Regions from separate parts of the Homo sapiens genome. Here regions 2, 3 and 4 are each linked to region 1. The links are contacts of gene promoters, found by promoter capture Hi-C in blood cells and fetal thymus (Javierre and others, 2016). All regions are on one chromosome and are shown on one strand. The core of a region is centred on a gene start or on the middle of the fragment in contact, and the rest is flanking DNA. Distances in the headings are between cores, read along the strand shown.

Region 1 (3,253 bases), core at 459-2,958:
AAAAAGGCCATTTCTCACTTGGGACCAGGAGCCTGGGAAAGAGCCTTGGGTGTGCCCAGGAAAGTTCCCTCAGGTCAACCTCCAAGGGCAATGCCTCCAGGCCACACAGTCTAGTGTCTAGGGAGCTGCGAGTGAGAGAAGGGCTGGAAGGGGCCATGGTGACAGGGGCTGGAGAAGACTTTTGGGAGATATCAGAATTAAAGTTGGGAGTTGCTATTCTACCGGTAGACTAAGAAAAAACTGAAAGACAGAGAGGGAGGGAAGGAGAACGAGATAGCAGAAATAAGAGAAGACTCAGGGGAGAAATGGGACGAAAAAACAGGAAAGCCAGAGAGGTAAGGAAAGGAGAAAGAGGAGAAAGGAGGGAAGCTGAAGAAAGAAGAGAAAGAAAATGGAGAGAGGAAGGGAGGAAGGAAAAGAGTGAGGGAGAAATTAAGGGAAGGTGGGGGAAAGAAATGAGAGAAGGAAATGAAAGAAAGAAGAAAGAAAAGAAGGCAGGAAGAGAGACAGGAAAGAACGAAGAACGAAAGAAATGGAAGGAGGGAAGAGGGGAAGAAAGGAAGAGGAAGGAGAAGAGAAGAAAATAAAGGGGGGAGAAAGGAAAGAAGGAAGAAAGAAAAAAGAAAGGCAGGAAGAGGAAAGAGAAAGAAAAAGGAAAAAGAAAAGGAGGAAAGAAAAAAAGAAAGAAAAAGAAAAAAGAAAGAAAAAGGAAGGAAGGAAGAGAAAGAAAGAAAGAAAAAAGAAAAGAGGGAAAGGAAGAGCGAAGGGAAAGAAGAAAAGAGAGCCGGCCGGAAAAGAAAGAGCAATCACATAAAAACATAAAACACAGATCTCCAACATGCTGTGTTGAGACGCCTCTTCTGGGTTAAAACAAAATGAAAACAGTCACAGACGAGGCAGGGGAAAGTGCTGGCAAAGCGTGGGCTCCTCGCAGACAGCTCCAGGTCCTCCGGCCGCAGGCGACGAAGGCAGAGCGGCTGGAGAGCGCGGAGCCCCGGCGGAGAGCGGAGCGCAGCGGCTGCGGACTCACCCCGCCGCCCGGCCCCGCGGCAGCAGCTGCCGCTGCCGCTGCCGCCTCCGCCTCCCGGCTCTCCCGCTCGCGGCTCACCTCGGCCGCGGTCCCCGCGCAGTACCCACCTCTGCGCCGCCGTGTTGGCGTCCAGCACCCCGGCGCCCTGCATCCACGTCCGCACCGCGTTCATGCCGCTGCCCAGCGGCTCTTCCTTCATGCTGCTTCCACTCCGTTGGATGCTTTCCTGAATCCCAAACATGAAAACAACCTTTTCTTGTGGAAAATCTCCTCCCCCTTGAAAAAAATTAAAAAAAAAAAAAAAGGAAAGAAAAGAAAGAAAAGAAAAGAAACAAAAACGCCAACCAGAGATTTTTTTTTTTCTCAGACGATGAACTCGCACTTAGAAGATCAAGGCGGGCTGGAAAGCAAATTTTTAAAAAATGTAAACCTCTGCTCAAAACTGAGCGATAACCCGAAAAAAAGAAGAAAGGGAAAATCCAACGAAAAGACCAAAATAATAAAATTAGAGATGTATGCTTGGCTGTTGGGGGTTGTTTGGTTGGTTGATTTTTGGTTTGGGTGCTTTTTTTTTTTTTTTGCTTTTTTTTTTTTTTTTTTGTAATGATCACAGGCCGGTGGAGGACAGGAGGGGCTGGAGTTTCCTTTTGTAGAGGTACCCTTCACTTGAAGAAGCAGGAAGAAAAAAAAAAAAAAAAAAAAAAAAAAAAAAAAAAAACCCTGATGGCAATTTAAGAAACAATAGACTCAACTCGCGCTGCCGGCTTTGCTACTTCAAGTGTCATTTTCCACAACCAGGCAAGTTTTTTCCTCTCTCTCTCTTTTTTTTTCCTCCTTCTCTCCCAACCAAAGATGTTTCTTTCCTTTGCGTGTAGATGAGGAGGACGCTGGTTGCCGTAGACAGATACACCAGAGAGGGTGGGGGGAAGGGGAGAGAGGGAGAGAGGAAAGGGGGGGAGGGAAAGAGAGATAGAGAGGAGAGGGAGAAAGAGAGAGGGGTGGACCCTGCTGGATGGAGATTCTGTTTTCTCCTTGCTAAAATAGAAGTGATTTGCAGGCTTTCCCTATGGAATCCAGTTTGACTTTCCCCAGAGCTAAACACAGGCACACTAACCCCAAAGGGAGGAGGCGGGGCCCGCGCATCGAGGCCCCGCCCCTTCATTTGCATAACGTCATCTTTCCGCCCACCGCAGCCAATCGCGGCCCGGGAGCCGGCTCGCTGGCGGCGCCAGGCCACGCTCTCTCATTAACATCCCGCTCCCGGTGGCGCAGGGGAGCCGGCCAAAGTTCCTCGCAAAGTGGCGAGCGAAGGAGCGCTGAGCACTGACGTCTGGGCTGGGGAGGAGCGGGTCCGAGCGAGGACGGAGAGGGGACAGAGGGAAAGGGAGGCGGGTGTCTTCCTCAGGAATTTGAGCTGGGGATCTGCATCCTGGCCATTGCAGTCCTTTAGCATCCTCGCCGCGCCCTGAGCGCGCTGGAGGCTCGCAGGCTGCGCCCTCCCAGGGCTGATGCCGCGTCCTGCTCCGCCGTTCTGGGACGTCGGGGACAAAAGTGGAGGAGACGGGAGAGCCCGGGCAGAAAAAGCAGGACGCGCGTCCCAGGTGCCCACCTCTTCGCTTTGAGGCGGGGGCGGTGGGATGGAATATGGGTGCGCGAGGTCGGGGCTGGTAACTCTCGGAGGGGCACGGCCTCCACGCTGGGAGGGATGAATGGACGCTGGGCCCCGGCAAATGAGGCGCTGTGGGTCCCCAGGAAGTGGGGTACCAGGCTCTACTCCCACCCCGGCCTCTGAAACGCTTCTCTCTCGGCCGCTAGCCTAGAGGCTGCCAGGGTTGGGCACTGTTCTCACTCACACGCTCACCTCTCTCGGGCAGTCCTCGAGATATGTGAATGGTGGAATGAATGCTCTCACTGGGGCTGTGTCAGGATGCGTTTTTAAATTTTCTCAAATTAAATGCCAACCCCTCATTCCCCACCCCAAGTAGTTGGTTCGTTTGTTTTTAGAGTAACTACCAAAGCAACAGCAATGTTAACCGTCCTTGATTAGCTGGTTATTTGGTGTAGGGTTTTTCTCATCCTCCTTTATTCTTCCTGTTAAAAAGGAGGGCTTGAACAAATCCTTCCTAACTCTGTCTCTGCCATATGAAAAGGGTGGGGGGAGAAGAGAAGGAAGGTGGGGAGAAAGGACAAAAAAGGAAGAAGGGGAAGAGAAAATGGGAAGGA
Region 2 (3,253 bases), core at 327-2,826, 1.1 Mb before region 1:
ACACAAAAGAATAGCCGGGCCTGGTGAGGCATGCCTGTAATCCCAGCTACTCGGGAGGCTAAGGCAGAATTGCTTGAACCAGGGAGGTGGAGGTTGCAGTGAGCCAACATTGTGCCATTGCACCCCAGCTTGGGCAACAAGAGCGAAACTCCATCTCAAAAAAAAAAAAAAAAAGAATTTTACAGCAAATACCCATATACCTACTACGTAGATTATACAATTAACATTCTATGACACTTGCTTTATTACCTGTCTATCCATTCCTCTCTTTCTCCATCTTATTTTTTGATGTATTTCAGAGTAGGTTGTAGACATCATGTAGTTTTCCCTAAATACTTCATCATGCACGTTGTTAAAATTCAATATTGGTTTACTTTCTTTCTTTTGAGGTAAGATTTACTTATGATGAAACACACAAATTTTATGGGCCATTTCATGGGTTCTGACAAATGCATTCACCTGTGCAATCCAAGCTCCTTTTCTTCACTTCCCCTTCCCTTTCCCTCCCCTCCCCTCCTCTCCTCTCCCCTCCCCTCCCCTCCCCTCCCTTCTCTTCTCCTCTCCTCTCCTCTCAGCGTGGGGCTAACCCATAGGCAGTGTGCCAAGAGTAGCTATGTCCTAATTGTTTTCAGCATAGATTAGTTTTTCCTATTATAGAACTTCATGTAAACTTCAGTGTGTAGTTTTTCTGTAAGGCTTCTTTTACTCAACGTAATGTTTCTGAGATTTGCCCATGCTGTTGTGTGTACAAATTATTTGGTCCTTTCTATTGCCGAAGGTGGTAAGAATGTACCACTGTTTGTATTCCCTTTCTCCTATTGATGGACACCTGAGCTATTTCCAGTTTTTGGCTTTATAACAAAGCTGTTAATTATCAATAGTCTTATACATGTCTTTTTGTGGATGTATGTTTTTATTTCTCTTGGATAAATATCTAGCAGTGGCATTTCTGGAATTTCTAGCATAGGGGTATGTTAAGTTTTGTGAGAGACTGCCAAACCTTTTCCGAAGTGGTTGTACCCTTTTATACTGTCACCAATGAGGTAAGCAAATTCCAGTTGCTCCACATCCACACTAATCCCTGATGGTGTCAGTCTTTTTAAAAAAAATGTAGCTTTCTCATGGGTATGTAGTGGCACCTCATTGTGAATCATGTATTATTTTTATAATCAGAACAAAAAGCTTTATAAAAAATAAAACAAATGATGCCAAGGAAAAGAAAGACAGGACTGGAAGTAAATGAAATAGGATTAATGGTTCACTTCTCTTGAATTTCTTTTTTGTTCTACTTTGCTTGTTTCCAAATTGTCCAAACTAAACTTGTATGTCTTTTATGTAGAAGAAAACATATTTGTTTATTTAAAAACGTACCCACAATAGTTAATACATTATTCCGATATAATTCAGTGACATTTTAGTGGCTGGTGACTTTAATGTGACAACTTAAAAAGTGGTGGGTTTTGGGCTGGGTGTGGTGGCTTATGCCTGTAATCCCAGCACTTTGGGAGGCCGAGACGGGCAGATCACCTGAGGTCGGGAGTTCGAGACCAGCCTGACCAACATGGAGAAACCCCATCTCTACGAAAAATACAAAATTAGCTGGGTGTGGTGGCACATACCTGTAATCCCAGCTACTTGGGAGTCTGAGGCAGGAGAATTGCTTGAACCTGGGAAGCGGAGGTTGCGGTGAGCCAAGATTGCACCATTGCACTCCAACCTGGGCAATAAGAGTGAAACTCCATCTCAAAAAAAAAAAAAAAAAAAAAAAAAAAGTAGTGGGTTTTGAGCCTGGGCTGTATTTAGGCCTTACTGGTAAATAGTCTATGAGATTGAGCGAACCACTTTCTTTGGGCTTTGGTTTCTTCCTTTTTTTGTATAAATGGATTGGAATAGATACCAAGTCCTTTGTCAGTTATAATGAAAACGTATGCAAAACAGTAAGCTCTTGAGAAAAAAAGAAATAGGGCAACTAAGCTTTGGTTGGGAACAAAGGCTCACTGCCTAGGGGTTTCAAGCTGAGTAAAAGAGTCATTTGCTGTGGAGCCCATGGATGAGGTCTAGGGCCACAGGAGACTGTGGGGTGTAGTGCGGAGAATGTGAGCTTCAGTCAGATGGTCCTGGGTTCAAATCCAGACAAAACCTTCTTCTCGCTCTTCGATCTTGGACAAGCGGTTTAATCTCTTTGAGTCTCAGTTTCTGCATCTGCTAATTGAAGATAACAGCACCCTTATGTATGCTCTTGACTTGTGTGTGTGTGTGTGTATTTGAAATCAGAAAATGTTTACAGGTATTATCATTTATAGAAGTCCTCCAGACAGTATTTTCTCCAGGAATGTAGTAAGCAAGTGAGAGAGGGACTTGAAGTAGTGGGGAATAAAAAGGGACCAGAGGGAAATTTAGAAATACGAATTATGGGCCGGGCACAGTGGCTCACGCCTGTAATCCCAGCACTTTGGGAGGCCGAGACGGGTGGATCACCAGCTGCGTGTGGTCGTAGGCGCCTGTAATCCCAGCTACTCGGGAGGTTGAGGTAGGAGAATCACTTGAACCTGGTAGGTGGAGGTTGCAGTGAGCCGAGATCGTGCCACTGCACTCCAGCCTGGGAGACAGAGCGAGACTGCATCATATATATATACATATACATACATACATATATATGTATGTATGTATATGAATTGTGAGAGCTTAAAGCAACCCTAGAGATTATCTAGTGAAAACCCTCATTTTGCAGAGGAAAATAATATAAGGTTTAGGATTGATTACCCATGGAGATGGTGGTAGGGCTGATGTGGGGACCAAGGTTTTAAATTTTCCAATCATACTATAAGGCTTCAGTTAATTCACACTTTGACCCTGGCCTGGTGTCAATCAGAGGAAGTGAAATTTTTCCTTGCACATCCCACTAGGACCACTTGGCTTGGGGATTTTTAAATGCTGTAATCAGCAAGTGAACAGACACAAGCTGTCTAGGAGACTTGTCAGTGGGAGATTTAATACTTCTCTTCAATTCTTCAAATTTTGCCAGCTAAAACAATAGGTATAAAAACCATATTGTTGGCTGGGCGTGGTGGCTCACGCCTGTAATCCCAGCACTTTGGGAGACCGAGACAGGTGGAATCACCTGAGGTCAGGAGTTCGAGACCAGCTTGGCCAACATGGTGAAACCCCATCTCTACTAAAAATACAAAAATTAGCCAGCCATGGTGGCGGGCACCTGTAGTCCCAGCTACTCGGGAGGCTGAGACAGGAGAAT
Region 3 (3,253 bases), core at 509-3,008, 1.1 Mb before region 1:
CAGCCTAGGCAACATTGAGCACTGAGTGAGTGAGACTCCGTCTGCAATCCCGGCACCTCGGGAGGCAGAGGCAGGCAGATCACTTGCGGTCAGGAGCTGGAGACCAGCCCGGCCAACATGGCGAAACCCCGTCTCCACCAAAAAATGCAAAAACCAGTCAGGTGTGGTGGCGCGCGCCTGCAATCCCAGGCACTCTGCAGGCTGAGGCAGGAGAATCAGGCAGGGAGGTTGCAGTGAGCCGAGATGGCCGCAGTACAGTCCAGCCTCAGCTTTCACAACTTCAGTGGCATCAGAGGGAGACCGGGGAGGGGCACAACTTTGGTGTCATCAGAGGGAGACCGGGGAGAGGGAGAGGGATTAGTTTTGAAATGTGAAAAGGACATGGGTTCTTTTGGGAGGGGTTGGGGTGGAATGATACGGTTTGACTCTGTTGGAAATAAAGCTCAGAATCTTAAGGAAACTGAGCACTCAAACAAAGGATTTTCAGCGAAGCAATTTTACTTCTGTGCAGAGGGGTGCTTCTCCTTGGCCAGTCACCATGAGAGCACACCAGAACAAAGGGTCTCTGTGTCCGCACTCAAATCTCATCTTGAATTGTAATCCCCATGTGTCTAGGGAGGGACCTGGTGGGAGATGATTGGATCATTGGGGTGGTTTCTCCCATGCTGTTCTCCTGATAGTGAGTGAATTCTCATGAGACCTGATGGTTTAAAAGTGGTACTTCCCCATTCACTCCCTCTCTCTCCTGCCACTTTGTCAAGAAGGTTCTTGCTTTTCCTTTGCCTTCCACCATGACTATAAGTTTCCTGAGGCCTCCCCAGCCATGCAGAACCTAGTCAATTAAACCTCTTGTTTATAAATTGCCTAGTCTCAGGTAGTATCTTCATATCGGTTTGAAAATGGACTAATACAGTGTCCCTCCAAAAAAATTAAAAAATTAGCCAGGTGGTGGTGGTGTGGGCTTACGATCTCAGCTGCTTGGGAGGATTGAGCCAGGAGTTTGAGGTTGCTGACAGCCATGATTACACTACTTTACTGCACTCCAGCCTGGGTGACAGTGAGATGCTATCTTGGAAAAAAAAAATTGAACTTTTCAATTGTTTCCCCACTATTTACTATCATATTTCAAATGTATTTTTAGTCCATTATTCCTATTCTTTGGTGTTTGTTGAAGTGAAAAATTAGAATAATAGGACTCAATTGAAATATCCAAAATATCAAGTTATGATAAACACACAGGTTTCTAATGTAAGTATTATATAAGCTTATATTTGTAGAATAATTATAGTGTACAGAAAAATTATTTGGACAATTATACACCAAGGTCTGAATAGTGTTTGCCTTGGGTGGGTGGAATTATTTTGCTTATTTATATATTTTTTAATCAATTTGACAAAATTTTAATAAGCTCTTATTAAATGTCAGCCATATTCTTTATGTTGAGGGTATAACAATGAAGAAAAAAGAAAAATTTGCCCTGATTGAAGGTACATACTTGTAGGAGTAGGAAGCAGACAAAAGAATTAAGTAAGATATATCACAGGCCAAACAGTGACAAGCACTATGGAGATAAATGAAGCAGGGAAGGGGGCTACAGCATGTTGGGGAGGGGTTCCAATTTTAAATAGGGTCACCAGGGAGGTCTGACTGTCGAGGTTACTTTTGAGTGAAGATCTAAAGGAAATGAGAGCCTGAGCCAGGTGGATATCTGGGGGGAAAAGCGAGCCAGCAGAAAGAGTATCAAGTACAAAAGGCTTGCTAGAGGAGCATGCCTGGTTTTGTGTGTGTGTGTGTGTGTGTGTGTGTTTGTGTGTGTGTGTAGTGAGACAAGGAGGTCAGAGGACTGGTGCAGAATCAGCCATGAGGAAGAGTAGGAGAAGGTGAGTTAGAGAGGTAGCGAGAGAGCCAAGTCATGTGTAGTCTTATAGGCCATTGTGAAGACTTAGACTTTCACTCAGCCAGCTAGAAAGCCACTGGGGGTGCTGAGCAGAGAAGTGACATAATCTATGTTATGTTTTATGTGTATCACTTTGACTGCCCCTTTGGGAATAACCTGTAGCAGGGACAATGGTGGAAGCAGGAGACTATGGGTGAGAGGTGATGGGGGCTTGGATCAAGGTGATAGCAGTGGAAGTGGGGAACAGTGGTTAGTGGTTACAGTATTGATACATTTTGAAGTTATAGTCTACAGGACTTGCTTACATATACAGAACATGGACTTATGAGATAAATAGAGTAGTCAGAAAGGAATCCAAGCTTCTCGGCCTAAACAAATAGAAGCTTAGAACTAAGTTAATAGAAATGGAGAAGTCTATAGTGAGATAAAGATCAGGAGGCAAGATCAGGAGCTCAGTTTTGAACATAAGTTTGATACATTTATTAGTCATCTAAGATGTTTCTGTAATGAGAATGCATTGTTTTTGAAATTGGGGAAAAACAATAAAAACTTTCAAAAGGCATTCTATTGTGGGACTGGGTTGTTTCAACGAGTCCTCTATTGTTGGCCTGAATTATTCAGTTTCTGTGGCAAAATTGTTTTCAGTCAAACCATCTGGAACTGGTGTATGCAGGGGGCCACTCTGGGTAACCACAAAGCACACTTGCTCCTGGGACTGCCCTGCTTAAAAGAAAGTCAAAAGCAGTCTCAGCACTGCTTTGCTATCTTGGCTGTCAGGGCCATTGATTCAACTGATTTCCTAGATGCTTGTTTTAACTCCCTAATCCCATGAGTCTTGCCTTGCTCTGTCACCAGGCTGGAGTGCAGTGGTGCGATCTCGGCTCACTGCAACCTCCGCCTGCTGTGTTCAAGTGATTCTCCTACCTCAGCCTCCTGAGTAGCTGGGACTACAGGTGTGCACTACCATGCCCAGCTAATTTTTGTAATTTTAGTAGAGACGGGGTTTCACCATGTTGACCAGATGGTCTCAATCCCCTGACCTTGTGATCCGCCCATCTTGGCCTCCCAAAGTGCTGGGATTATAGGCGTGAGCCACTGTACCCGGTCGCTTACCTGAAGCTTTTAGGATCCAGTGTCCCTGGACCCTTAGTTCTTACTATCCCCTGATAGTAAACACCTATCCTATTACCACCATGCTGCCATTAGTTAATTCACAATACATTTCTTGAATACCTGTTTTGTGCAAAGCACTGGACAAAGCATTTTTGGGACAACAAAGAAGCTGAGATATGATATTGAAACTCTAGGAGGTTGCAGTGCTGTCGGGGAATGTAAGGCTATATAACAGGAGTGTGA
Region 4 (3,253 bases), core at 498-2,997, 1.0 Mb before region 1:
GTTTTTCTCTTACCTCACTGGTTGTCCCTTCCAAATCTGCTTTGTAGCTTCTTTTCTTCCTGACCTCTCATGGTAAGAGTGCCCTGGGGCTCTGTCCTTAGACTTCTTCCTTCTTCTATCTACATTCACTCCCTTGGAAAGTTCGGCTAGTTGCCTGACTTTGTATGCCATTTATGTGCTGATGATTTTTAAGTATATATCTTCAACGTGACTTCCCTCCTGAACCTCAGACTCATATGTTCTACAGCCTACTCAGCTTCTTTATTGGGATACCTCATAGATATCTCAAGCTCAACTTGAATTCCAGATCTTCCTTTCTACTGCACTCCGAACCTGCTTAACCCACAGCCTTTCCCTTCTCAACTGATAGCATCCTCATCCTTCCACGTCTGTAAGCCCAAATCTTGGAGACATGCTTAAATTCTTTTTCTCTCACATTTGCAACCAATCTGTCAGGAAATACTGTGGACTTGGCCTTCAAAATGTATCCAGTATGCAATTATGTCTCCCCACCTCCATTGCTACCACTCTAGCCACTATCATCTCTAGCTTGGCTTACTGTCAAAGCCTCCTAACAAGTCTCTCTGTAGCCACCCACCTTAGGGTCTTTGCAGCCTGCTTTTATCTGCCTGGAATGCCTGCTGCTCAGATATCTGCCTGGCGATCTCCTTTATTTCCTTTAAACCTTTGCTAAATGTCACCTTCTCCATGAGGCCCACCTGTCCACCTTGGTTTAAAACAATAACCCTCTCCCCTCCCCTAGGCTGGCTGTGGCACTCCCTATCCCCTTTACTTCCTGTTTTCTTTTCCTTAGCACTTAGCACCTTCTTACACATTGCATACTAATTCATTTATCATGCTTGTTGCTCATAATGGGATAGTGTGTGGGATATATATGCTGTCCCTGCGATCAGCCTGACTCACGGAGGGGATGCCTTGCTCAAACGGACAATGGATGACGGGCTTGGGCTTGTGTTCCTCTTATCTTCTAGTCTATGGTCCCAGGATTTGGGAGGCTCCAGATCCCCTGGATACCCCGAGAATGGGTCAGGATAGTAAGTCTGGGAATCCATGTTCTGATTCATTCGTCTCCTGATTCATTGGGTAGCCTTAGATGACTTCCTTGACTTCTCAGGATTTATTTTCCCAGTGTAAGAATTCCTTTGTTAGGTAAATCTCTCTCAATCTTGAGAACATAAGCTTCCCTTCTGTTCTCATGTTGATAAGCAAATTCAAGAAAATATGACATTTCAATAAATATAGCATAGCAGAGACAAGCATAGACTCTATTATCAGGATGCTTGGGTTCTAATCCTGGAACTACCACTTAGGTCATTAGCTTCATCCTTTCTCCATCAGTTTTCCTATCTGTAAAATAAGCACAATAACAATACCTATTGCCAGGAGATAGACTGCCTTATTTTGGTGTGTATGGGTTGGGAGTGGAAGGATATAGGTGGAGACATTGAGGGAAGACCTCAACAAAGATTCCTTTCTTTTCTCGAAGGATCTGTGTCACTGGGAAAGTAGGGACAGCTACTCTTATCCATTGATAAAATGAGTTAGTTTGGGATTGACTAATTGGTGGACCCTGCTCAGTAAATGCTAGCTGAATGAGTAAATGAATGAATGTATCTGAAAAACAATACTGTACCTGTATCCTAGGACCCTGTGAAGTTGAATTAAATATCTAGGTAGGAGAGAAATTTGAATTTATATAGCCCCTTTTCTCTAAGTATATCAAAGCACATACAGTCAATTCCTGGTTTATGTATGTGTGGTTAGCTATGGTAGATTTTTAATGCCCTGCTGTCTTTGCAATGCATGTCAATTTGGTTTTGGGCTCCCTCTCTTTGTTCTCAGGTTGGGGGTATCGGTAAAGACACAGTAAGGCAATGCAAACTCATTTTAGTAGCAGCTTAAAAATAACAATGAAGATAAAACTGGGGGTTTGAAAATATATACTGAGTTTTCCAAAGCAGAATGAAAATGAGTTTTATATTATCTACTCATTTGTATTGTTTACATACCACTTCCTTTCCCACAGTGTGAATAATTACTGTGGGGGAGTGGAAAGAAGATGGGATTTAGAATTGGATACATCTGGGTTTGAGCCTATGCTCCCCCATTTTATAGCTGTGTTCCATTAAGCAAATCCATTAGCATCACTGCACCTCCGTTTCCTTATCTGCAAGTATAGTTATAATCATGATGTGGATGATGCTGATGACTGTAATAGTAGTTATAATAACACCACCACCACCAGAGGAGGCATAGTTTGTAGGTGTTAAGAGTGAAGCTTCTGGGGTCAGATTTAGCTGGGTTCATCATAGCTCTGATGTGTTAGAGCTTAGACTTTTAACCTATTCAAGCCTCAGTTTCCTTATCCATAAAATAAACATCATCCTAATGACATGGAGCAATGTCATAAAACATGATTGAGTTACTGTAGGTAAAAAATTTAGCACACTGCCTGTGTATGCCATGGGGCAGAGTATATGGTCCATACATATTAGTATTTAAAAATCATACTCAGTTGAACTACTTACTTTATAGAGTTCTTGTAAGGACCAATGAAGGTGCTGAGTAAAATTAGGTAGTTTTATTGATATAATCCAGACATGACAACTTTGGATGTGTTGTAAGCATTATTCATCTAATAAATAATGTGCTTATAGATACTCATAAACTTGCATTTTATGGCATCTCTCTGTAATTTTCCCACATGAGTCCGAGTGGTGGTAAATAGCTGGTGGCTGTGTTTTTGGTCAGAGCTACAGCAATTTCAGAACCACATCCTTTGGTTTCCAGCAGGCAAAGAGTTAAAATTACATTTTATTGCCTTGTATGACCCAGGGCTGGAAAGGGCTGGTTGTAAATGAATCCAAATTATATTTCCAGGAAGAGAATGTATAGGAAAAATATTAATGACAAAAGGGAACTTGGAGCCACAAACATTTTATAGCATCATGGGCTTAAGGGTCAGATTGCTTGATGCTTTTCCATCATGCCTGGGTTTATTTTAAAGATTTAAAAATATATAGCTCTTTATCATTTTTGTTAAGTTATTCTTAAGAACTTTACATTTTTCATTTCTATTATAAATGGATCTTTCTTCAACATGACATCTTCTAACTGATTTTTGCTGACATATAGAAAAACTATTAATTTTGGTTTGTTTATCTTGTATCTTGATCCATGTTGAACTTCTTTATTAATTCAAATAGTTTTTTCAGTTGATTTCCTTGAATAT

Evidence for each region. Contacts are between HindIII fragments. The CHiCAGO score rates a contact against its expected background, and 5 or more counts as called.
Region 2: a fragment that was not itself captured here is called in contact with the fragment with the promoter of EBF1 in region 1 in 1 of 17 cell types (fetal thymus); the score reaches 6.1 in fetal thymus.
Region 3: a contact is called between a fragment that was not itself captured here and the fragment with the promoter of EBF1 in region 1, in 1 of 17 cell types (M1 macrophages). The highest score is 5.0, in M1 macrophages.
Region 4: a fragment that was not itself captured here is called in contact with the fragment with the promoter of EBF1 in region 1 in 1 of 17 cell types (M0 macrophages); the score reaches 6.2 in M0 macrophages.

What each region holds. Positions count from the first base shown.
Region 1 is chr5:159,098,208-159,101,460 of GRCh38, forward strand. It overlaps EBF1 (EBF transcription factor 1), which reads right to left and starts at 1,709. Exons shown (of 16, transcript NM_024007.5): 1 at 1,138-1,709. The coding sequence starts at 1,271. LINC02202 (long intergenic non-protein coding RNA 2202) reads left to right here and starts at 2,276. Exons shown (of 3, transcript NR_109890.1): 1 at 2,276-2,631. RefSeq lists enhancers at 1-239, 1,989-2,617, 2,618-3,244 and a silencer at 882-1,171. The HindIII fragment of the contact is 12,266 bases long and covers 1-3,253 here.
Region 2 is chr5:157,951,437-157,954,689 of GRCh38, forward strand. No RefSeq gene overlaps it. Among named protein-coding and RNA genes, the nearest start is that of CLINT1, 94 kb to the left of the region's middle. The HindIII fragment of the contact is 792 bases long and covers 1,181-1,972 here.
Region 3 is chr5:158,037,693-158,040,945 of GRCh38, forward strand. No RefSeq gene overlaps it. Among named protein-coding and RNA genes, the nearest start is that of CLINT1, 180 kb to the left of the region's middle. The HindIII fragment of the contact is 992 bases long and covers 1,263-2,254 here.
Region 4 is chr5:158,093,882-158,097,134 of GRCh38, forward strand. No RefSeq gene overlaps it. Among named protein-coding and RNA genes, the nearest start is that of CLINT1, 240 kb to the left of the region's middle. The HindIII fragment of the contact is 1,099 bases long and covers 1,199-2,297 here.